Regions from separate parts of the Homo sapiens genome. Here all the other regions are linked to region 1. Evidence: promoter capture Hi-C in human tissues and cell types (Jung and others, 2019). All regions are on one chromosome and are shown on one strand. The core of a region is centred on a gene start or on the middle of the fragment in contact, and the rest is flanking DNA. Distances in the headings are between cores, read along the strand shown. Region 1 holds the start of RAB5C (RAB5C, member RAS oncogene family). Region 2 overlaps RETREG3 (reticulophagy regulator family member 3). Region 3 holds the start of ATP6V0A1 (ATPase H+ transporting V0 subunit a1). Region 4 overlaps ATP6V0A1 (ATPase H+ transporting V0 subunit a1).

The links. Contacts are between HindIII fragments. The study calls those that stand out against the background at their distance.
Region 2: a fragment that was not itself captured here is called in contact with the fragment with the promoter of RAB5C in region 1 in 4 of the 25 tissues and cell types used here (H1 embryonic stem cells, heart right ventricle, lymphoblastoid cells and 1 more).
Region 3: a contact is called between the fragment with the promoter of ATP6V0A1 here and the fragment with the promoter of RAB5C in region 1, in 2 of the 25 tissues and cell types used here (dorsolateral prefrontal cortex and spleen).
Region 4: a fragment that was not itself captured here is called in contact with the fragment with the promoter of RAB5C in region 1 in 1 of the 25 tissues and cell types used here (liver).

What each region holds. Positions count from the first base shown.
Region 1 is chr17:42,151,182-42,156,416 of GRCh38, reverse strand. RAB5C (RAB5C, member RAS oncogene family) reads left to right here and starts at 1,428. Exons shown (of 6, transcript NM_004583.4): 1 at 1,428-1,524. It overlaps RAB5C-AS1 (RAB5C antisense RNA 1), which reads right to left and starts at 2,017. Exons shown (of 3, transcript NR_187282.1): 1 at 1,708-2,017; 2 at 1,309-1,418; 3 at 1-649. RefSeq lists enhancers at 1,160-1,269, 1,152-1,446, 1,356-1,976. The HindIII fragment of the contact is 20,335 bases long and covers 1-5,235 here.
Region 2 is chr17:42,600,808-42,605,901 of GRCh38, reverse strand. All of the region lies in intron 1 of RETREG3 (reticulophagy regulator family member 3), which reads left to right. Among named protein-coding and RNA genes, the nearest start is that of RETREG3, 6.0 kb to the left of the region's middle. The HindIII fragment of the contact is 8,726 bases long and covers 1-5,094 here.
Region 3 is chr17:42,457,615-42,462,896 of GRCh38, reverse strand. ATP6V0A1 (ATPase H+ transporting V0 subunit a1) reads right to left here and starts at 4,019. Exons shown (of 22, transcript NM_001130021.3): 1 at 3,934-4,019; 2 at 1,886-2,049. The coding sequence starts at 2,002. RefSeq lists a silencer at 3,950-4,159 and an enhancer at 4,310-4,399. The HindIII fragment of the contact is 16,608 bases long and covers 1-5,282 here.
Region 4 is chr17:42,472,720-42,477,641 of GRCh38, reverse strand. The region is part of intron 5 of ATP6V0A1 (ATPase H+ transporting V0 subunit a1); the gene reads right to left. Among named protein-coding and RNA genes, the nearest start is that of ATP6V0A1, 16 kb to the right of the region's middle. The HindIII fragment of the contact is 4,239 bases long and covers 1-3,912 here.

The sequences.
Region 1 (5,235 bases), core at 179-2,678:
CTTCCCTCTTCCTTTTCACTTCTCATGAACACTGGCGCGGAAGTGGGGATTGTGTGTTATGGGTGTAAGAAAGAGAGACGCCCTGATGACCAGATGGAACTAGATGTGGGCACAGTTTTGTGGCAGGTTGTCCAAGACAGGTAAATTCTCCAGCTGAGGCTCCAGGATATGCCTGGTGTTGGCGTTATAGGCACAATGGCCACAGCTGTCTCCGGTGAGCTTTGATTCCACACAGGTTTTCAGTAGTGTCCCTTGAGGATGAGATGCAAAAGAAGAGGAGGTACTGGTTTGTGTTGAGAGGTAAGGGTGGGAGGAATCAGGAGCGGGCCCAGTCCATATTGAGAGGAGCAGAAAAAACAAATATTCCTGATCCATAGAGGGGGAGAGTGCAGAGTGGGGGTGGTTCTAGTCTTTATTTACGGATGGAGAGGGCCGAGGCAGAGGTTGTCCAGCTCTGTATTCCGCGTCAGAGAGAAGAGCTGACCCTGGCTAGGAGCAGGGGAAGGCAGAGGCAGAGATGGTCTTTGTGCCGGCCCCCGCACACACCAAGTAGGAGGTGGTGGCAGAAGCTCTCCCTTTGATCTCACCCAGCATCCTGCAGAGAACTCTTCCTGCAGCGCTTTCCTCACCTTCCCAATCACAGACGCCCCTGGCAATCGGGCGGACAGTGCAGACAAGGGCTTCTCCAGATCAGCGAGTTCACAGGACTGAGGCCTCGCGTGCATATTCATTCGCACCACGTTTTTTCTTTCCCAATTCTGCACACACAATCCTCTGCCTTCTTCCAACGCTCCACCACCCGCCTTCCCTCGGGGCGTCCGGAACCGGCGGTGACGCGGATGGCAGGGTTAGCCTTAAAAAGTTCCCGGCCGTAGGCTGGGCGCGGTGGCTCAGGCCTGTAATCTCAGCACTTTGAGAGGCCGAAGAGGGCGGATCACCTGAGGTCAGGAGTTCGAGACCAGCCTGGCCAACATGGCGAAACCCCCGTCTCTACTAAAAAATACAAAAATTAGTCGGGCGTGGTGGTGCGTGCCTATAATCCAGCTCCTCGGGAGGCTGAGGCAGGAGAATCGCTTGAACCCGGGAGGCAGAGGTTGCAGTGAGATCGCACCACTGCACTCCAGCCTGGGCGACAGAGTAAGACTCCGTCTCAAAAAAAAAAAAAAAGTTCCGGCCGGGCTCCGCCTCGCAGTCAGCCGGCTCCACCCTAAGCCCAAGTCCCAGGCAGCCACTGACTCCTCCCAGCGCTGCGAACTACAAGTCCCGCGATCCCTCGCGCGCTCCCTACCGCCACTCCCGCGTTCCTACCGGCGCCGCTGGGTAGGTCGGCCAAGAGTGCCTCCCATTGGTCTCCGCACTGTCAATCACCTGGGAGTATTGAGGGGCGGGGCGGAGGTGGAGATCCGGATCCGGAGCGGCTGAAAGGCGGAAGTGGAGGCCGGAGCCTGGGACACCGCCGGCGGGGAGAGAAGCGGATCCCGTCCGAGCCCCGGCCCCAAGTAACGCCGCCGCCCCGGAGCCGCCGTGAGTATGCTTGTCCCAGGACCTGGTGTCTCGCCTGCGTTGAAGCATCTCCAGGGCAGCCCTTCCTCCCGCCCAGCCCCAGTTTAGGGGGATACTGACCCCTCCCCCGACCCGTAGCCCCCTCTTGAGGGGCTCCCCAGGCGTCGGGCCATAGGAGGTGGGGAGCTTCTTTCCTTAGCTTACCTGCCTTTGGTGAGCCTTAAGGAAACCGCTATGACTGTCCTCTGGCCTGTCCATTCTAGTTGTGGGAGAGAGGTACCCTAAGTTCCGCTCCCCCTGCTTCCAGAATCGGAGGATCTTTGCTAGGTGTGAAGGAACCTGTCCCTCTTCTCTTTTAGAAGTGACAGGGAGTGCTGTCTGTCGCCGTTTTCCTTCCTCCTGTCCCACAAAACCAGTTGTCCCCTCTAGCCCTAGAGGAATATCTCGATTTCCTTTGGGGGAGGGGGGTCGTCTGGGTGAGACCGTTCCACACGCACAGAAGTGTGTGTGCGCTCCCGCAACTCCTTACTTCCTCTCTTTCCTCAAGCCAGAGAACCAACCAGGACCTCAGCTGAGTTTAAAGTCACTTACTAGAAATGAGCTGTTTTCCTGTTTTGCCCCTTCTGTCTCCCAGCCCTGTCCTCTAGTTATGTTGTTCTTTGAGTGTCTCTCTCTTTCTGCCTCTGAAGAATTTAGCTGAGGTTTGCTCAATCCTAGCTACAGATCACAGATCAGGGTGGATGTGCCCATTCATTATCTTCTTTCCCCTCCCCCCTTGCTCCAGGCTCAGCTCTGTCCTCCCAGAGCACGTGAGTGGTTTCCCAGCCGCCTCAAAGGGACTGCTTTTCTTGGGACTGCTGTCCGTGTGTCTATAGGGAGGAGAATAAGACCCAAAATGAGGAGTCTGGAATTGAAGGGCCATCTCTTTCCCACTCCCAAACACACACACATACACCTCCCTGAGCAACAGGTCCACACCACGCCAGGGTCTGTCTGCAATCCCTTCAGGGCTTGGACTTATTACTGAGGACTAAGTCAAGATCACAATGGCAGTTCTGGATTTTTAATTGTAGCCTGAGGAATTCCGATACATGCCAGAAAGTGCAGGTTCCCTCAACCATATTGACTGATCCTTGTCTGTTGCTTGGGGCTTAGGTGTGTGAAATAGCTGCTGTCTCAGACCAAGCTTTGTTATGTGGCCAAAGTACAGGCCGGAGACTGTACCTTAACGAGGAGTAGCCTGGCTCTGAGGCCATGACTGACCCTTGCTATCTACAGTGGAGGAAGGGACGGAAAGCCGTGCAGTTTGTGGGAACTTCTGTAGCTCTTCAGTGTTCTGGGCTACCTTTACCACCCTCGCTTGCCACTTAAAAGTGCTGTGTTTTTTGGCCTTGAGGTGTGTTTGAGGGCTTCTGGACAGTGGCTAGTATCTGATTCCTACAGTCTTTTGAGTAGAGCTAGGATGTACTTTCTTCACTTTTTTGTTTGTTTGTTTTTGAGATGGAGTCTTGCTCTGTCGCCCAGGCTGGAGTGCAGTGGCGTGATCTTGGCTCACTGCAACCTCTGCCTCCTGGGTTCAAGCAGTTCTCTTGCCTCAGCCTCCTGAGTAGCTGGGATTAACAGGCGCCTGCCACCACACCCGGCTAATTTTTGTATTTTTAGTAGAGATGGGGTTTCGCCATGTTGGCCGGGCTGGTCTCGAACTCCTGACTTCAGGTGATCCACCCGCCTCAGCCTCCCAAAGTGCTGAGATTACAGGTGTGAACCACCGTGCCCGGCCTACTTATTTCACTTTTTATCGGACAACAGAAGAAGCCTTCCTTATTAGGGTCAACAGCTGGATCACAGGCTCTGTATCTGTGTGGGTTCCTTTGGGGTTCATTGGAGACTTCTTCAACCAACCTAGTTTCTCTGATCTGGTCAGCCTGGGCATCTGAGGGGCAGGGCCAGAGAGGCCTGACTGCTCACTGGCCATTGGTCTCTGACCAGACTTAGGTCTTCAGGAGTAGACCGCAGTTTGTCACTCTTCAGGAGTGCTGGGATGAGGCCGACCAGCCTTCTGAGGAGACCTTCTTTTCTTTGTCTGGACATGCTCTCCCAGCTCTGACTCTGAAACGACTTTTTTTTTTTTTTTGGAGACAGAGCCTTGTTTTGTCACCCAGGCTGGAGTGCAGTGGCACAATCTTGGCTCACTGCAGCCTCTGCCTCCCGAGATCAAGGGATTCTCCTGCCTCAGCCTCCTGAGTAGCTGAGATTACAGCCATGCACCACCACGCCCAGCTAATTTTTGTATTTTTAGTAGAGATGGGGTCTCACCATGTTGGCCAGGCTGGTCTCGAACTCCTGACCTCAGATGATCCACCCACCTCAGCCTCCCAAAGTGCTAGGATTACAGGCATGAGCCACTGCACCCAACCTGAAACGACTTTGAAGGGGAAGCTCTGCCATTTAGAGAGACGAGGCAGGCCCCAGTGCTTTGGGTCGTTATGCAGCCACTTCTGGCACCTAGAAATTATAGAGTCCAAGCAGAGGTCTGACTCTGCCTGGCAGAGAGAGCGATGGCTCCGTGTGCGACAGAACCCCTCCTTTCTGATGCTGTTCCTCCCCTGCCCTCTTGCCTCTCACAATTAGAGGGCTGTTAAACTGTAGAGGGACAGTAACACTAATTTTTAAAAATCATTTTAAGGTTGCAAAATTATTTTCATACATATTCCTCATAGGTGCCTTGGGAAATAGTGGGGCTTGTTTCCCCACTTTGTTTTTAATTTTTATTATTACTTTTTTTTTTTTGAGTAAGATAAGGCAAGTGTCCCTGCTTTAGAAGGGATGCAGAAGGAACTTAAGTAGTTTGCCTAAGATCGATCATACATTTAGAAAGTAGTAGAGCTGGGGCTTGGATTTGGGGTCAGATGTGACCTGATCTAACAGTGGGCCCTTCTTCGGCCTGGTTTGTTCGTTAAATGAATGAACATGCAGACTGAGTGCGCCACGGCACAAGGGCAGACTCTTAACTCTTTAGCCCTCCTCATCACTAGCGCTCCTCTGTTTTTTTGTCTTCCCCAGCGTCTACCCGACCTCCTGTCTTCTCTCTTGACCCCTTTCACCTCTGCCTCTGAGGACCAAAACAGTTAGGAGTCCCAAGTCAGTACTCTTCAGGGCCTGAGAGTTTGCTGACATCTACATGTCATTAATTTTTCTGGGAACCTGAAAGTCCTAATGGCTAGAAAATGAAAGTTAAAGTGAGTAAACTCAGGGGTCCCACTGGGCAGGGTTAAGGGGGAAGCAACAGAGCGGGCCTCTGGTTAGTCCTCTGTTTCTCCTGTGGTGCTGCCTGCTGCTTGCAAGTGGGAAGAATGTGGCTTGCCACCAGGAGCTCCTGTCACTAGAATTTACATGGAAACAGAGCAAGATCATACATTTAAATTCAGCCCCACCAAGCAAGTACTTCTTAGACCTTCTACTTCTTTTTTTTTTTTTGAGTCGGAGTCTCGCTCTGTCGCCTAGGCTGGAGTGCAGTGGTGCGATCTTGGCTCACTGCAAGCTCCGCCTCCCGGGTTCATGCCATTCTCCTACCTCAGCCTCCAGAGTAGTTGGGACTACAGGTGCCCACCACCACGTCCGGCTAATTGTTTTGTATTTTTAGTAGAGATGGGGTTCCGCCGTGTTAGCCAGGATGGTCTCGATCTCCTGACCTCGTGATCCGCCCACCCTGGCCTCCCAAAGTGCTGGGAT
Region 2 (5,094 bases), core at 1,647-4,146, 450 kb before region 1:
CTCCCACCCCAGCCTCCCGAGTAGCTGGGATTACAGGCACCCACCATCACGTCTGGCTAATTTTTGTATTTTTGTAGGGCAGAGTTTCACCATGTTGGCCAGGCTGGTCTTGAACTCCTGACCTCAGGTGATCCACCCACCTCGGTCTCCCAAAGTGCTGGGATTACAGGTGTGAGCCACTGTCCCTGGCCGACAATGTGACTCTTGAGACTAAAAGAACAGTTGGGTATGCCATTTCTGGAGAGGACTCCTACATGTGAAAGGCACAGATACTGTTAAGTCCCCAGAAACTTGGATAGTCTGGCATTGGAGTTCACAGAATTGTTTGGGGAAATGAGCTTCCTTGGTAGGTAATTAGAGATTTAAAATGAAATTTGGGCTTCACATTCTAGTAGTGTCATATTGAGTATGAGTGTTGACATTTCGCTTAGAAATGTGGAAGAGTGACTGACTGTTCAGTTAACAAACATTTTAAATGTTTAAGAAAGGGAGGAGGATCATTAGCTCAAGTCAGAAAAATCAAATCTGAAATATTTAGTTTCTCTTTTATTGTATTGAATAATGGGACAAAAATGACATATCATTAACTGAGATTTTTATGCATTTTGAGGTATTAGGAGATAGGAGTACAAAAAAAAACCCATCAGAATTCAGGTAGGTAGCTCTTAATTTTCAGTGTTTTGTATCCTCAGTCATATTTTGCCGTAACTGTGAATATGCCCTCTTACATCTTAAAAAAAAAAAAAAAAGATGGAGATAGATGTAGATACCTTGTCACCATAGTATTCCAAGGTTTTCATACTTTTTTTTTTTTCAGGTACCAGAGAATTTATGGTGGCCATATCAGAGGTCTTCCAGCCTAGATTACTTCTGGTCACTGATCTGTTATTGTCTCTAGCATAATAATAGAAATGTCAGGCCGTTCCTTCCAATAGCTTGTGTTTTCATTAGTCTCAACCTCATCTGTGAATGAGTGATTTGGGGGAAGAATGTGAGAGTCAACAAGCATGTATCCTGACAGGATCAGAAAAGAACAGGTTTGGGTAACTTTTTGGTTTGACTTGTACTCTGAGATCAGAGGAGGGTAAATGAACACTGGAAATGTGTGAACTCCAAGCTCCCTCTCCCACCTAACATGAAGAGATAGTTCAAGGAGGCCTACATAACTGCTGAGCTCTTTCAGTTTTTTTTTTTTTTTTTTTTTTTTGCTGGGGAATCGGGGGTTGTTGGGCTGGACAGGGTCTCCCTCTGTTGCCCAGGCTGGAGTGCAGTGGCACAATCATAGCTCACTGCAGCCTCTACCTCCTGGGCTCCAGCAGTCCTCTTGCCTCAGTCTTCCAAGTAGCTGGGACTAGAGGCACATGCCACTGGGCCCAGCCTATTTGCAAAACTTTTGTAGAGACAGAATCTCAATATGTTGCCCAGGCTGGTCTCAAACTCCTCATCTCTAACAGCCCTCCCGGCTTGGTCTCCTAAAGTGCTAGGATTACAGGCATGACCCACTGCACCTTGACTGCTTTGTGGTTTTTAACAATCTGTGAATCTACATAGTCTATGAATTAGGAATATTGTTTTGGAGCAGTCCACAAGCTGAGTCCCAAGTAGAGATCTCTGTTGGGATCTGCTTTTTGCAGTCACTAGTCTCAGTGAACCATACTGTATTTCTAGGAGGTTATTATAGAATTTGTTATTTCACAAATGAAATGTAAAAATTTTATTTTTGTCCGCCCCCCCAAAAAAATAAATAAATAAAAATGACCCAAAAAAGTGATTAAGGATATACAGCAATTCTGAGTTAGAAGGTTAGGATTTGAGTAAAAAATAATAGAAACAAGAAATGGAAGATGGGGAGCCCATTTAAGTAGAGATATTTGTTCTGTTAAAAAAAATCTACACATCTGATTTCTTTTCTTTTTTTTTTTTTTGAGACGGAGTCTCGCTCTGTCGCCCAGGCTGGAGTACAGTGGCGCGATCTCGGCTCACTGCAAGCTCCACCTCCCGGGTTCACGCCAGTCTCCTGCCTCAGCCTCCCGAGTAGCTGGGACTACAGGCGCCCGCCACCATGCCCACCTAATTTTTTGTATTTTTAGTAGAGACCGGGTTTCACCGTTTTAGCCAGGATGGTCTCAATCTCCTGACCTCGTGATCCGCCCGCCTCGGTCTCCCAAAGTGCTGGGATTACAGGCGTGAGCCACCGCGCCCGGCTACACATCAGATTTCTAATGAAATCTGTTGAGTGAATGTTCCTGATGATAGTCTTTGCAGGGTTCTTGTCTTTGTGAGCCGAGAAGACTCCCAAGGATGCCTTGGTTTATTTACTTCCCCTCTCTTTACCTTTAGTTTTTATCTGCCCTAATTGTATGGTTGAGTGCTTTCTCTCCACTGTTAGCAGCTAGCTGATTTCATTTCTGGTTTTTTTGCAAGCAACAACTGTCACTGCATGATATAGGTTGGGTTAATTTTTCCTTTGAATTTACCGGTGACTTGGGCTCATTAACCAGGCGGTCACAAGTGCTGTACAGTAACAGGCTTTCTGTCCCTGTAGAATGGGATGCTTTGTTTTGAAGTGCCCTTGAGACAATCTTAATCTGTAATAACAAAGGAACCTAGAAATCATGTCTTTGAAAATAGACATGTGGTCATTATTTATGATTATAGCAAACTTTAATTTACTGGTACTAATAGTGAGGCTCCATGGTATAGTTAATCACAAAAGTTTATGTTTGGTTCTGGAATTTCTCACGATGTTTCTGGACACCAATTGCTATTCCAGGGATATTTTATTTAGACTGATCATTTAATTGGATTTTAGTCCCTGACAGAGTGGAGGGACAGTTCACAAAAGGGGAAAAAAAAATCAATGGATATATAAAATTTCACTCTCACAAATAAGAAAAGAATTCAAATATATGTAAATGGAAATTATTTACTAATTTCTATCTTAAGTTTTTTTTTTGGCGGGGGACAGGATCTCACTGTCGCCCAGGCTCGAGAGCAGTGGTGTGATCATGGCTTATTGCAACCTCAACCTCTGGGCTCAAGCCATCCTCCCACCTCAGCCTCTCAGGTAGTGGGGACTACAGGTGTGTGTCACCACACCTGGTTAATTGTTTTGTATTTTTCGTAGAAACAAGGTTTCACCATGTTGCCCAGGCTGGTCTTGAACTCCTGGGCTCCAGCAGTCCACCCACCTTGGCCTCCCAAAGTGCTGGGATTACAGGTGTGAGCCTCCACACCTGGCCTTAAGTATTTTTAATGATCATAATTAATTCTGGGGAAAATATGGAAAAATGGGCATATGGCTGATAGGAACATAAATTGGACAGCCTTTCTAGCAAGTAGTTTGGTAACATATTTTAAGCCACTTAAGAAGCTTTTCCAGGGCTGGGGGAAATGGAGAAAGAATACTAATGGGTATGGGTTTCTTTTGGAGTGATGAAAATGTTCTGAAATTACATAAGGCTATTAGTCGTACAGCATTGTGATTTTTTTTTCATCTCTGCTGCTGGCAGATGAATTGAAAGAGAATTTTATCGTATACAAACCATTATCTCAATAAAGCTATTTTCTTACTTTTTTTTTTTTGAAACGGAGTCTTACTCTGTGGCCCAGACTGGAGTGCAGTGGCATGATCTCAGCTCACTGCAACCTCTGCCTCCCAGATTCAAGCAGTTCTCCTGCCTCAGCCTCCCAAGTAGCTGGGACTACCGGCGTGCACCACCATGTCTTGGCTGATTTTTGTATTTTTAGTAGAGATGGAGTTTCACCATGTTGGCCAAAGTGGTCTTGAACTCTTGACCTCAAGTGACCCACCTGCCTCGGCCTCCCAAAGGCTGGGATTACAGGTGTGAGCTACGGTGCCCGACCAATAAAGCTATTTGTTTAAAATAGTTAATGCCTTTGACCCAGTAACATGCTCAGTGATGTATAGTTCAGCTTTTATTACATCAAAAAATTGGAAACTTTTGGCTGGGCGCAGTGGCTCATGCCTATAATTCTCAGCACTTTGGGAGGCCGAGGCAGGCAGGTCACCTAAGGTCGGGAATTCAAGACCAGCCTGACCAACAATGGAGAAACCCCATCTCTACTAAAAATGCCAAATCAGCCGGGCATGGTGGCGCATGCCTGTAATCCCAGCTACCTTGGGAGGCTGAGGCAGGAGAATCCGTTGAACCTGGGAGGCAGAGGTTGTGGTGACCCGAGATCGCGCCACTGCACTCCAGCCTGGGCAACAAGAGCAAGACTCCGTCTCAAAAAAAAAAAAAAAAAAAAAGTTGGAACCTTCTTAGTTTATTTTTCGTTTATTTTTCTTTTCTTTTTTTTTTTTGAGAGAGTCTCGCTCTGTCTGTTGCCCAGGCTGGAGTGCAGTGGCGCGATCTCGGCTCACTGCAAGCTCCGCCTCTCAGGTTCACGCCATTCTCCTGCCTCAGCCTCCCGAGTAGCTGGGACTCCAGGCGCCCACCACCACTCCCGGCTAATTTTTTGTATTTTTTAGTAGAGCCAGGGTTTCACCGTGTTAGCCAGGATGGTCTCGATCTCCTGATCTCGTGATCTGCCTGCCTCAGCCTCCCAAAGTGTTGGGATTACAGGCTTGAGCCACCGTCTTAGTTTATTTTATTTTATTTGAGATGGAGTCTTCCTGTGTTGCCCAGGCTGGAGTGCAGTGGCACAATCTCAGCTCACTGCAACCTCCGCCTCCCGGATTCAAGCAGTTCTCCTGCCTCAGCCTCCTGAGTAGCTGGGATTACGGGCACCCGCCACCATGCCTAGCTAATTTTTGTATTTTTAGGTAGAGATGGGGTTTCACCATGTTGGCCAGGCTGGTCTTGAACTCCTGATGTCAAGTGATCTACCTGCTTCAGCCTCCCAAAGTGCTGGAATTACAGGTTTGAGCCACTGCGCCTGGCCCATTCATTGTTTTTTTTGAGAGAAGGTTTCACTCTGTCACCCAGGCTAGATTGCAGTGGTGTGATCATGGCTCACTGTACCCTGGAACTCCTGAGCTCAAGTGATCATTCCACCTCATGGCTGATGAGACCACAGGAGTTCATCACCACATCAGGCTAATTGTCTATGTATTATGTGAAAAAGTTT
Region 3 (5,282 bases), core at 2,770-5,269, 300 kb before region 1:
TCACACCGGTAATCCTAGCACTTTGGGAGGCTGAGGCAGGAGAACCGCTTGAGTCCAGGAGTTCAAGACCAACCTGGGTAACATGGCGAGACCCCCATCTCTATTTTTTTTCTTAATGTTATAAATTTTATTATTAAAAAAAAATTAACAGAACTAGAAGAAACTGAAATATCTGTTGGCCAGGTATGGTGGCTCATGCCTGTAATCCCAGCACTTTGGGAGGCCGAGGCGGGTGGATCACCAGAGGTCAGAAGTTCGAGACCAGCCTGGCCAATGTGGTGAAACCCCGTCTCTACTAAAAATACAAAAATTAGCTGGGCATGGTGGTGCATGCCTTTAGTCCCAGCTACTCAGGAGGCTGAGGCAGGAGAATTGCTTGAACCTGGGAGGCGGAGGCTGCAATGAGCTGAGATCACACCACTGCACTCCAGCCTGGGCGACAGAGTGGACTCTGTCTCAAAAAGAAAAGCAACAACAACAACAACAAAAACCACACATAGGAGAAATAAAAGCAAAACAAATCACTGTACGGGTTACCTCTGGGGTGGAAGAAAGGACTGGCATGGAGCAAAGAGAAACAGAGGTTTCAATTATACACGGAATGTTTCCCTCTTAAGCAGATAGTAGAAACATAGGTGGTCATTATAATACTCCCCCCACCTCTTTTTTTTTTTTTGGTTTTGAGACAGTGTCATGCTCTGTCACCCAGGCTGGAGTGCAGTGGCATAATCACAGCTCACTACAGCCTCGACCTCCTGGGCTTCAGCGATCCTCCCACCTTAGCTTCCCAAGCAGCTGGGACCACAGCCATGTGCCACCACATCCGGCATTTTTTTTTTTTTTTTTTTTTTTGGCAGAGACGGGATCTCCCTATGTTGCCCAGACTGGTCTCCAACTCCTGGGCTCAAGCGATCCTCCTGCCTTGGCCTCTCAAAGTACTGGCATTTCAGGTGTGAGCCATTGCACCTGGCCCCTATCTCTTTTTTTTGTATGACTGAAGTACAGCATAAGTAAAAGAAAAGAAGGCTGAATAGAGCCAATAGATGTTAAGCAGAGGGACAACATAGGACCAGATGAAGAACTGCAAATTAAGGATGACAAGTTTTTTGTTGTTGTTGTTGTTGTTTGAGACGGAGTCTTGCTCTGTCGCCCAGGCTGCGTGCAATCACACAATCTCGGCTCACTGCAACCTCCGCCTCCCAGGTTCAGGCGATTCTCCTGCCTCGGCCTCCCGAGTGGCTGGGATTACAGGCCTGCGCCACCATGCTAATTTTTTTTGTATTTTTAGTAGAGTCGGGGTTTCACCATGTTGGCCAGACTGATCTCAAACTCCTGACCTCCCGATCCGCCCGCCTCAGCCTCCCAAAGTGTTAGGATTATAGGCGTGAGCCACTGTACCCAGGCTAGATTGTCCATATTCTTTAGATAGCTTCTCCAAGTGCCCAGTATAATATTCCAAAATAATGAATATTCAGTATATGCTTATTTATATACTATATATCTGTAGCTGGATACCTCAAATTTTATTTTTTTTAAAATGTCCTACTATATGGAAAAACTGCAATATATTTTTTTAAATACCTTGCTATTTAGCAAGTGAAAGCCTTGATCAGGTTAGTTTGGTAACCTCTCCCTGCATCCCAAACAATTACCTGGAGAATGCTTAGGACTGTTCTGAAAGTGGGAGCTAGCAAAAGCATGTAAAGATTGGCACAAAACATTCTCACCTTTAGAAAGACAACTCAAAATGTGCATTCTGCCAATAGGAAGTCAGTGCTATAATGTTATTTTTGCAAATAAAAAACAAAACATTCATCATAAGGCATCTGACCACGATAGCAATAGAGTTCAGCAGTAATCAAGTCGCAGCCCCACAACTACTTACGTCACGAAACTGAACCTTTCCAAGTTCTCCTAATTCACTGACACAACAATAAGCAGCCTCTGACTGTAGAAAAAGCTGGGCCAGTGTCATTTCTTCACTCCGGAAAAGCTCCCCCATGGTGGCAGAAGGTACCAGTCTAGTGAGTACCTGGATTTCTCTCCAACCTGAAGCAAAGAGAAAATGACATAACTTTGGAAATTACCACGAGGGCTAAGAGCAAATGACACCCCACTACGGCTCTTGCATTTACATTTCTAACACCCCATGAGGACAGGTCAACAACTGTTTTTGACACCCTGTCTAGAAAGATGGAAAGGAGAAATTGCAAAGGCAGTTCCTGAATTCTGTCCCACAGAGTGTCAGATGAAAAGTCACTTCCATTCCAGTCAACATCAGGATCAAATGACAATTATTTTGGGCAACTCAACTGATAAGAATGTATCCAGATTAAAGACAGGAACTGGGAACCTCAAACAACTCTTTAAATACCCAGGACACAATATTGAGGCAGTGAGTTTCACACTGCTCAATCTGTTTTTGCTAGTGCAGGAAACAAACAGAAGAGGCCTTCAATACCCTCTCATAAAGATGTCTGCCTTGTAACTATCCTTCTCCCTTCTACTGACAATGCGCATTTCTAAAAGCCCAAAGTTCTGGCACTATCCTAAAGCTATGGCTACACTAAAGGGTTTAATCTTCCAGATTCCTCAGAAAACAATATTTCCCCACTTAGGAATTCAAACAAATAACCGTCATCTGGAAAAAGCAACCAGTTTGCATATTAAGCTCAATTTCAAATCAAGCATGACAGGAACACACTGATAATGACAAAGCAGTTTTATCAAGCCACAGAGAATAAGCCTTCCACCTCTGCAGCTTTCTGTTTCTCAACCCTACCTTCAAGATTAATTACATTCTTCCATCTGTCAAATCTCATGAGCCAATAAAGGTTTCGTTTTAGTGCTGTCTTACTGTTGCCGGGTATGAGACAACTGGCGCTATCAGTGGTCCTGAAACTGCAATTATTTATTCTCGATCAGCTAATGTAAGGCACAGCCTGTCCAGTATCCAAACTCAGAAAAATGCACAGTATTTTTAGTGTCATAAGGGCATCTATACTGAGTACTGATAGATGAGTCTGACATCAAAGGAAGATTTACTCTTCTGGAAGGCTGGGAGACATTTTGAGAAATCTGAACGAACAAACCTTTGTGCATGTGATGTTCAAGACAGTAACACAAGCTCAGACATAAGCAAGGACTTCTCAAGAGAATATGCAGGCTGACTTTAAGATTCTGTACATCTGAATCATCCAAATCAGCTGTTACCGGCACCACCCTTAAACAAAGAGAGATTCTACAACCTCTAAACACATAAAATTAGGCCTGGTCAGCATAGTTCAGGAGCTGTGGATAATGATAAGCCTCCAACGAGTCGCCTCCGTCCTCCTGCTCTTTAATGATTATAGGTCTCCCAAGAATATCTCTATAGCAATGGAGGCTAACAGAAAACTAATTAGGCCAAAGTAGTTCTGGACGATCACAAAACAAAATATGAAGAAACAGCAATTCTGCAAAAGATGAGTCCAACTACAGCGCCCCCGCGCCCTGCCTAGAAGAATCTCACTCCTGTCATCCGGTCCTCGCCTCCTCCCACGGTATTCACCTGCTTCATTTCCTGTCTACCCAATGAGCAGGAATTCTCTGGACTCAGGCTCATCTACCTTGAGATGGGAAAAAAGGAGAGGAAAACCCCCAAACTGAGAAACCCTTTAAGAAGCCCCCTAAATTCTTCTGCCTATCCAATAACCTCCGGTTCCTCCGCCTACCCCTTAAAGCAGGGAAGAGATGCGGGGCTTCCAAAGGGCAGTGAGCCTCCGGTTCCTCAGGGCAGAGGAGGGGTGCCCAAGGAGGGGGCGAACCCCCATTTTATCTCGAAGACGTCAGATCCCCGCTAATTCCTCTGACAATCAAGGGGGCTCTTAGAAGGATTTCCTACGTCCATCGAGGGCCGCTCCCTGTTGCGCTAAACCTACAGCCCCCACTCACCTCCAAACTCCGCCACAGCAACCGCCACAGAAACCACCGCAGCCAAACCCGCACCCTCCGCGGCTCCAGGAGCAGCGCTTCGACGTGCTTGCGTCCGTAAAGCCCCGCCCCTGCGCCGCCGCCGGCCCCCGCCCCCGCAATGACCTCATTGCAGTTGGCCAATGGGGCGCAGCCTCGCCCGGGCTGCAGCAGTGCGGAGTCACGGGGGTCGCAGGCGAGACCCAGCGTGCTGACGCCATGTTGGCCCCTGTGCTGTATCTCCACGCTGGGGAGGGTTAGCGGGTGGGGCTGGAGGTGCAGGTGCTCGAGGCCTTAAGTTCCTGAGCCTCCCTGAATCCTTTTTCTTACCCCTTATACTGGGGTAGGTTGTCTTTTCTCTTTCTTTTTTTTTTTTTGAAGTCTCATTCTGTTGCTCAAGCAGGAGTGCAGTGGCGTGATCTCGGCCCACTGCAACCTCCACCTCCCGGGTTCAAGCGATTCTCCTGCCTCAGCCTCCCAAGTAGCTGGGACTACAGGCACGCACCACCATGCCCGGCTAATTTTTGTATTTTTTTTTTTTTTAAGTAGAGACGGGGTTTCACTATGTTGGCCAGGCTGAGTCTCGAATTCTGACCTCGTGATCCACCCGCCTCGGCCTCCCAAAGTGTTGGGATTACAAGCGTGAGCCACCACGCCCGGCCTTTTTTTTTTTTTTTTTTTTTTTTTTTTAGATGGTCTGTTTCCCAGGCGGGAATGCAGTGGCGCGTTCTCGGCTCACTGCAGCCTCCGCCTCCCGGGTTCAGGGGATTCTCCTGCCTCAGCCTCCCTAGTAGCTGAGATTACAGGCACGCACCACGCCACCCGGCTATTTTTGTATTTTTTGTAGAGATGGGGTTTCGCCATGTTGCCCAGACTGGTCCTGGCCTCCACCCGCCTCGGCCTCCCAAAGTGCTGGGATTACAGGTGTGAGCCACCGCGCCCGGCCCTCTCTTTATTTTCATATCCAAAGAATTAATTCACACATACGCACCCAAATAATTAATGTCTTCTCTCTTTATTTTCATATCCAAAGAATTCACACACACACTCAAATAATTAATACGCAGACACATATACCACCCTTTCTCTTTTCCCTTATTTTACAGATGAGAACATTTGAGCCCCAGACTGGGGAGCGGCTAGCTTTAGATCCTGTAGTAGAGTCTTTAACGGGGTCTCATTTGCATAAGTATGGAAAACCTCTCTTTAAATGGTACATGGTTCATGCCTTCCAGCAACTTCCCCGGGTCTATTTTTCTCTGTTTAACAGGAAAAACCTCATCAGACCATATGTTGTGAAAGTACATTTCAGTCTTGTTTGGTAGATTCAT
Region 4 (4,922 bases), core at 544-3,043, 320 kb before region 1:
AGCCTGAATTCACAAATCAATTAATATCTAATGAAAATAGTTAGTGGCATGCAGGCAACGAGGAACCAGGAGACAGGTTCAGAAAATAAGGATGAAAAAGAAAACAAACCACGAAAAGACAAGATATATCCATAAAAAGACAAGAAGAATAGGGGATGAAAACACAGAAAATAAATTTGAGGTAAAGAAAGCATAATTGCCCCAGTAAAGCATCTGGGGAAATGGTTTTAGAAATAAGGAGCAAAAGGAAAAAAAATTAAGTGATGGTGACATGTATAAATCTGTTACTTGGTGGAAGCCATTTTCTCTCCTACGTTTCCCTGAATGAATGATGAAAGTGCCAGGAAATACCTCTGCATGTAGATAGGAAGCTAAAATATCTCTTCTTTCTGTGCAATAATGAAGAGACTCTGCAGATACTCTGAACATTTAATTTCTAGGCAGCTACAAACTAGAATTTTCCCTACGTGAGAATGTGAAAGATAGAGGCTCTCTTTCCAAGGAAGAAGCAAGGCACTGCCACTGTCTTTGAATGCTGTGAAGTCTGGAGAAAGACAGAAGGGGAAGCTCCAGGTATCTACGTTTCCAGCCCCTTTAAAATTCAGAATATGAGAACTTTCAGCATGGCCACTTATAGAATGATCCAAGCCATGGGATTTAAAGAGTATTTATGTCTTCAAAAGGATAAGAAGCACAATAGCTGGGCAGGCCTGTAAAAACATATCTGAATGTCCCATTTTCTGACTAGGAATCTTCTAAATAAGTTCACATAGGCTTTACAGTTGTAGGATTCTTGAGAACACAGCTCAAGAATCAAGTAAAGTGAAGGAAAAACAACAGATAATAAACCAAACTAGAGTTCATGGGCTGGTTTAATTGGTAAGATTTAAAATGACTTCCACCATGACAGTTTATACAATGAAATGAAGAAGGATCTTCCCACACGCAGGTCTACATTTCCTAGCCTCTCTCTACCGAACTCATCCTACCACCCTTTACTCCCATCAGAAAGGAGAAGCTGCTCCAAAAAACAAAACAAAACAAAACAAAACAAAAACCAGTCCAATCAACTTCTCCATTGCCTCATCTCCCCAACTCTAATACCCAGGCAATACTTGTTTGACCAAAAACTAGGAGTAAACCAGAACAATCATCCTCTTCAAAAGCACAATAAGACAAAAAATCAGAAGAGTTTTTCTCTATCATTTTCATTCCAAATTTCAATTTGATTCTACCCCTGTCAGCCACACTCTTAAAAAGTGGCACAGGGACCATAACTTGATAAAGTCATGGGATCATAAACATAGCAAAAAGGGGGAAAAACTGTGTATAAACCAGATGATAAGTCTGAAGGCCTAAAAAATAGAAAGCAATCATTTTGGGAAGTAAGGATCAACACCAGAAGTGCAGAGAAATACTGTCATGAGATTGGAAAAGTTTAAGATGAGATCATGGAGACACTAGTTACCACTGGCTGTTACATGTAAGTTGAGGGGGTTCTTTCGGTTTCTACTTGCAATCAAATCAGCTGACTACAAGCAACTTGTTTTCAGGATCCCGATGATTACAACATTTCAACTTGTTCTTGGTTTATCCCTTGGCAAAAACCAGTGAGCCTGACTACTCACAAGACTCCATCCTACTTGCCTGCCTGTCTCACAAGACGTGGTTTAAGTCAACCCTAAATATCGGACTCAATGCAAACACATGTGCTCTAACTGATGGAAAAGCAAACAGTACTTAGCAACTAGACCACTTCAAAGACTCTATCTAGGACTCTCTGAGAATAAAAAACAACAAAATTAAAATTCAACAGAAACTTGCGATAATATTTGAATTGCTAATTTCACCACTTCATACTTAAGAATTCTATCTTAGAGAGAAAAGTTACAAATTTTTAAGTAAAATTGTGCCTGGTGAGAAACTAGGATGACTAGAACCACTCACTAACTGAAGGCCTTTAAAGCAGTATCTAAAACCATGTGGTTGAAAGTATCTAAATCTTAGAGCAGGGGTGTCTGATCTTTTGGCTTCCCTGGGCCACATTGGAAGAAGAACTGTCTTGGGCCACACATAAAATACACTATAATGATAACTAATGAGCTAAAAAAAAAAATTCCAAAAAAATCTCATAATGTTTTGAGAAAGTTTACGAATTTGTGTTGGGCCACATTCAAAGCTGTCCTGAGGCCTGAAGGCCATGGGCTGGACAAGCTTGTCTTAAGGGTATCTGGGTTCTCTAATAACAACATTGTGAATATGCCTCTACATTACTGCTATGCCCTCTGGTTTCTCCATTCAGATACTGAAAACCACGCCTTACAAAAAGGAAGTAGAAGAACTTCAGTTCTGTTTCTACAGCAATTAAGTATAAATAGCACATCCAGTTCAAGCTATGTCAATTACCAAGAACAAACAATTACTGCCATCTACATCGAGAAAAAAATTATATTTCATTACTTAAGGTATTCACCTAGGCCCCAAAGGAAATGGCAGATGGGAAAAAAATAAAGAAAGCAGATGGATGGAAAACTGAGAAGGAAAGGAAAGCAGGGAATCTGCATGCCATTAACCATTACTTTTCCAGTCTTCTTTATGTTCTCATATGTTATGGTGCTTATGGTAAAAGATGCAGAGAAATCTCTCCAGCTCTTACAGTTCTTCATAAGCAAGAAGACTTAGAAAAGGATAATCATTAACAAGTCATTTTAAATGCCCTAGATAAGAAATGACTAAGTCAAATTTGTAATCATCTTTAATCATAAGACTATTCAATATGTTTATTTTTCACCTTACACACACCCTGCCAATCATAACTCCTATGCCTAAATATAGAATCATTTTCTGATTTAGCCATTTCTGCTAACTCATTACTGTGAATTATTGATTATAGTCACCAAATTACACAAAATAAGGGGTTTAAAACTGGTAGTGTTTTAGGCCCTTTGCAAATATTATAATTTCAGACACAGAAGAAAATCTCATTAAAAATCCTAAGTTTCCAACATTTGAGGGTCCCAAGTGTCCTATCTTTCGCATTATTTGAAGTGCACGCGCATGTGCAGATGCAAAGTTGTGGCAGTGACACCTGAGCCTGCTGCTACGCAGCAGCAGGGCAAGGTCTATGGAAAGGAACCTGGCTGAGGCTGTGAGCTAGTGCAAGAACAGGCAAGGCAGAGAGGTTCTTGCCAGGAGACTTGCAATGCAGTGAGACTGCTGGGAATGGAAGGGGAATTGATGACAAAAGCAGCATAAGAACCTCTCATAGCCACGGTCTTGTGCTCTAAGTACTTCCAGAGACTGGAAAAAAAAAAAAAGTTTTGAATAAAATAGGAGGGGGAGGCTGGGTGCGGTGGCTCACACCTGTAATTCCAGCACTTTGGGAGGCTGAGGCAGCTAGATCACGAGGTCAGAGTTCGAGACCAGCCTGGCCAATATGGTGAAACGCCCGTCTCTACTAAAACTACAAAAATTAGCTGGGCATGGTGGTACACACCTATAGTCACAGCTGCTCGGGAGGCTGAGGCAGGAGAATCGCTTGAACCCGGGAGGCGGCAGTTGCAGTGAGCCAAGATCGCACCACTGCACTCCAGCCTGGATGACAAAGCGAGACTCTGTCTCAAAAAAAAAAAAAATAGGAGAGGGAAAACAACCCCAGCATGAAAAGGGCACAAAGATCATGAAGACTTAGAGTCTGCCTTCTCAAAACAGGCATTTAGTGTTTAGACTTATTATTCACAAAATAAAAGTCCTAAATCCATAAATTATGATTTTAAAATATCATTTTTCCAAGTGGTTCCTCTTATTTTCATTTTTACTAAGTTCTTTTCATTAGAAAATTAATAGTTTAAATAATTATTTCCCTTAAGGGAATCCATCTATCAGTCTTTATTCGGAATTTCTCCAAAAATGAACCATAATAGGAAGCTGGCTCTCATTCTTAAACTTACGAGGTCTTGAAAGACATTTTCATATGAGATAGCAATATCTCAGCAGTAAACTAAACAGTATATCAAAAGGGAAAAAAATGGGGACAGGGAAGGTAAAAGAATTAAGCTCCAAATAATGCTAAAAGGTAGCTGAGCTCTGACTACAAGGCCAGGTTTACATCAGATCTGTGGGTAGCAGCTTGGATATGTTTAGAAAAGCACACATCTGTGAGCATATGAAAGCGTCATGTTCTGGGGTATTTCTTAAGACTGAATGATACATTCCTTAAACACAGGGACCATGTCTTACTCATCTTGTGTCTCACAATAAGTAGGTGCTCATTATATGCTCAGTGAATTAGTGAACAAAAATACAATAACGTCTGGGCAGTGAGCATGCTGGAATTCCAGGTTCATTAAAAACATACAGCTTAAGTGGCGATGCCTATTGCAAAAGACCTTAAACACTTAGAGTTAATCACACTGTCCCACACCCTCTAACGTGATGTCATTAGGGACTGGCGAAAGAAGTTACCACTAGTCTCAAAATTCTCGACTCTGTGAGCAAACTAAATAAATATTTGTACCTTCTGACTCTTGAAAGGACCAGGCAATTAAATTCATATGAGTTTTTCCCCTTTCCCTTGACCCAGCAGATCCTTTTAATTAAATGGCTTCTGAGTCAAATCCTTAAATTAGTGAGGAATGTATCACATCCTCAGCAGACCTTCTCTAGCCCAGCAGTTTTCAAACTAGCATGCCTCCGGATCACCTAGTAAATACAGACTGCTAGGCCTAACTCCCACAGTGTCTGATTCAGTAAGTCTAGGGTGGAGACTGATAATTCATACTTCTGACAAGATTACAGGTGAGTCTGCTGCTGTTGTTTGAAAAACCCCTGCTCCAGTCTAGAGAATTCTGGATATTTGATCTCCCCTCAAAAGAGAAAAATTTCTGAGATGAGGCAGTTAAAAACAATTTTTTTTTTTGAGA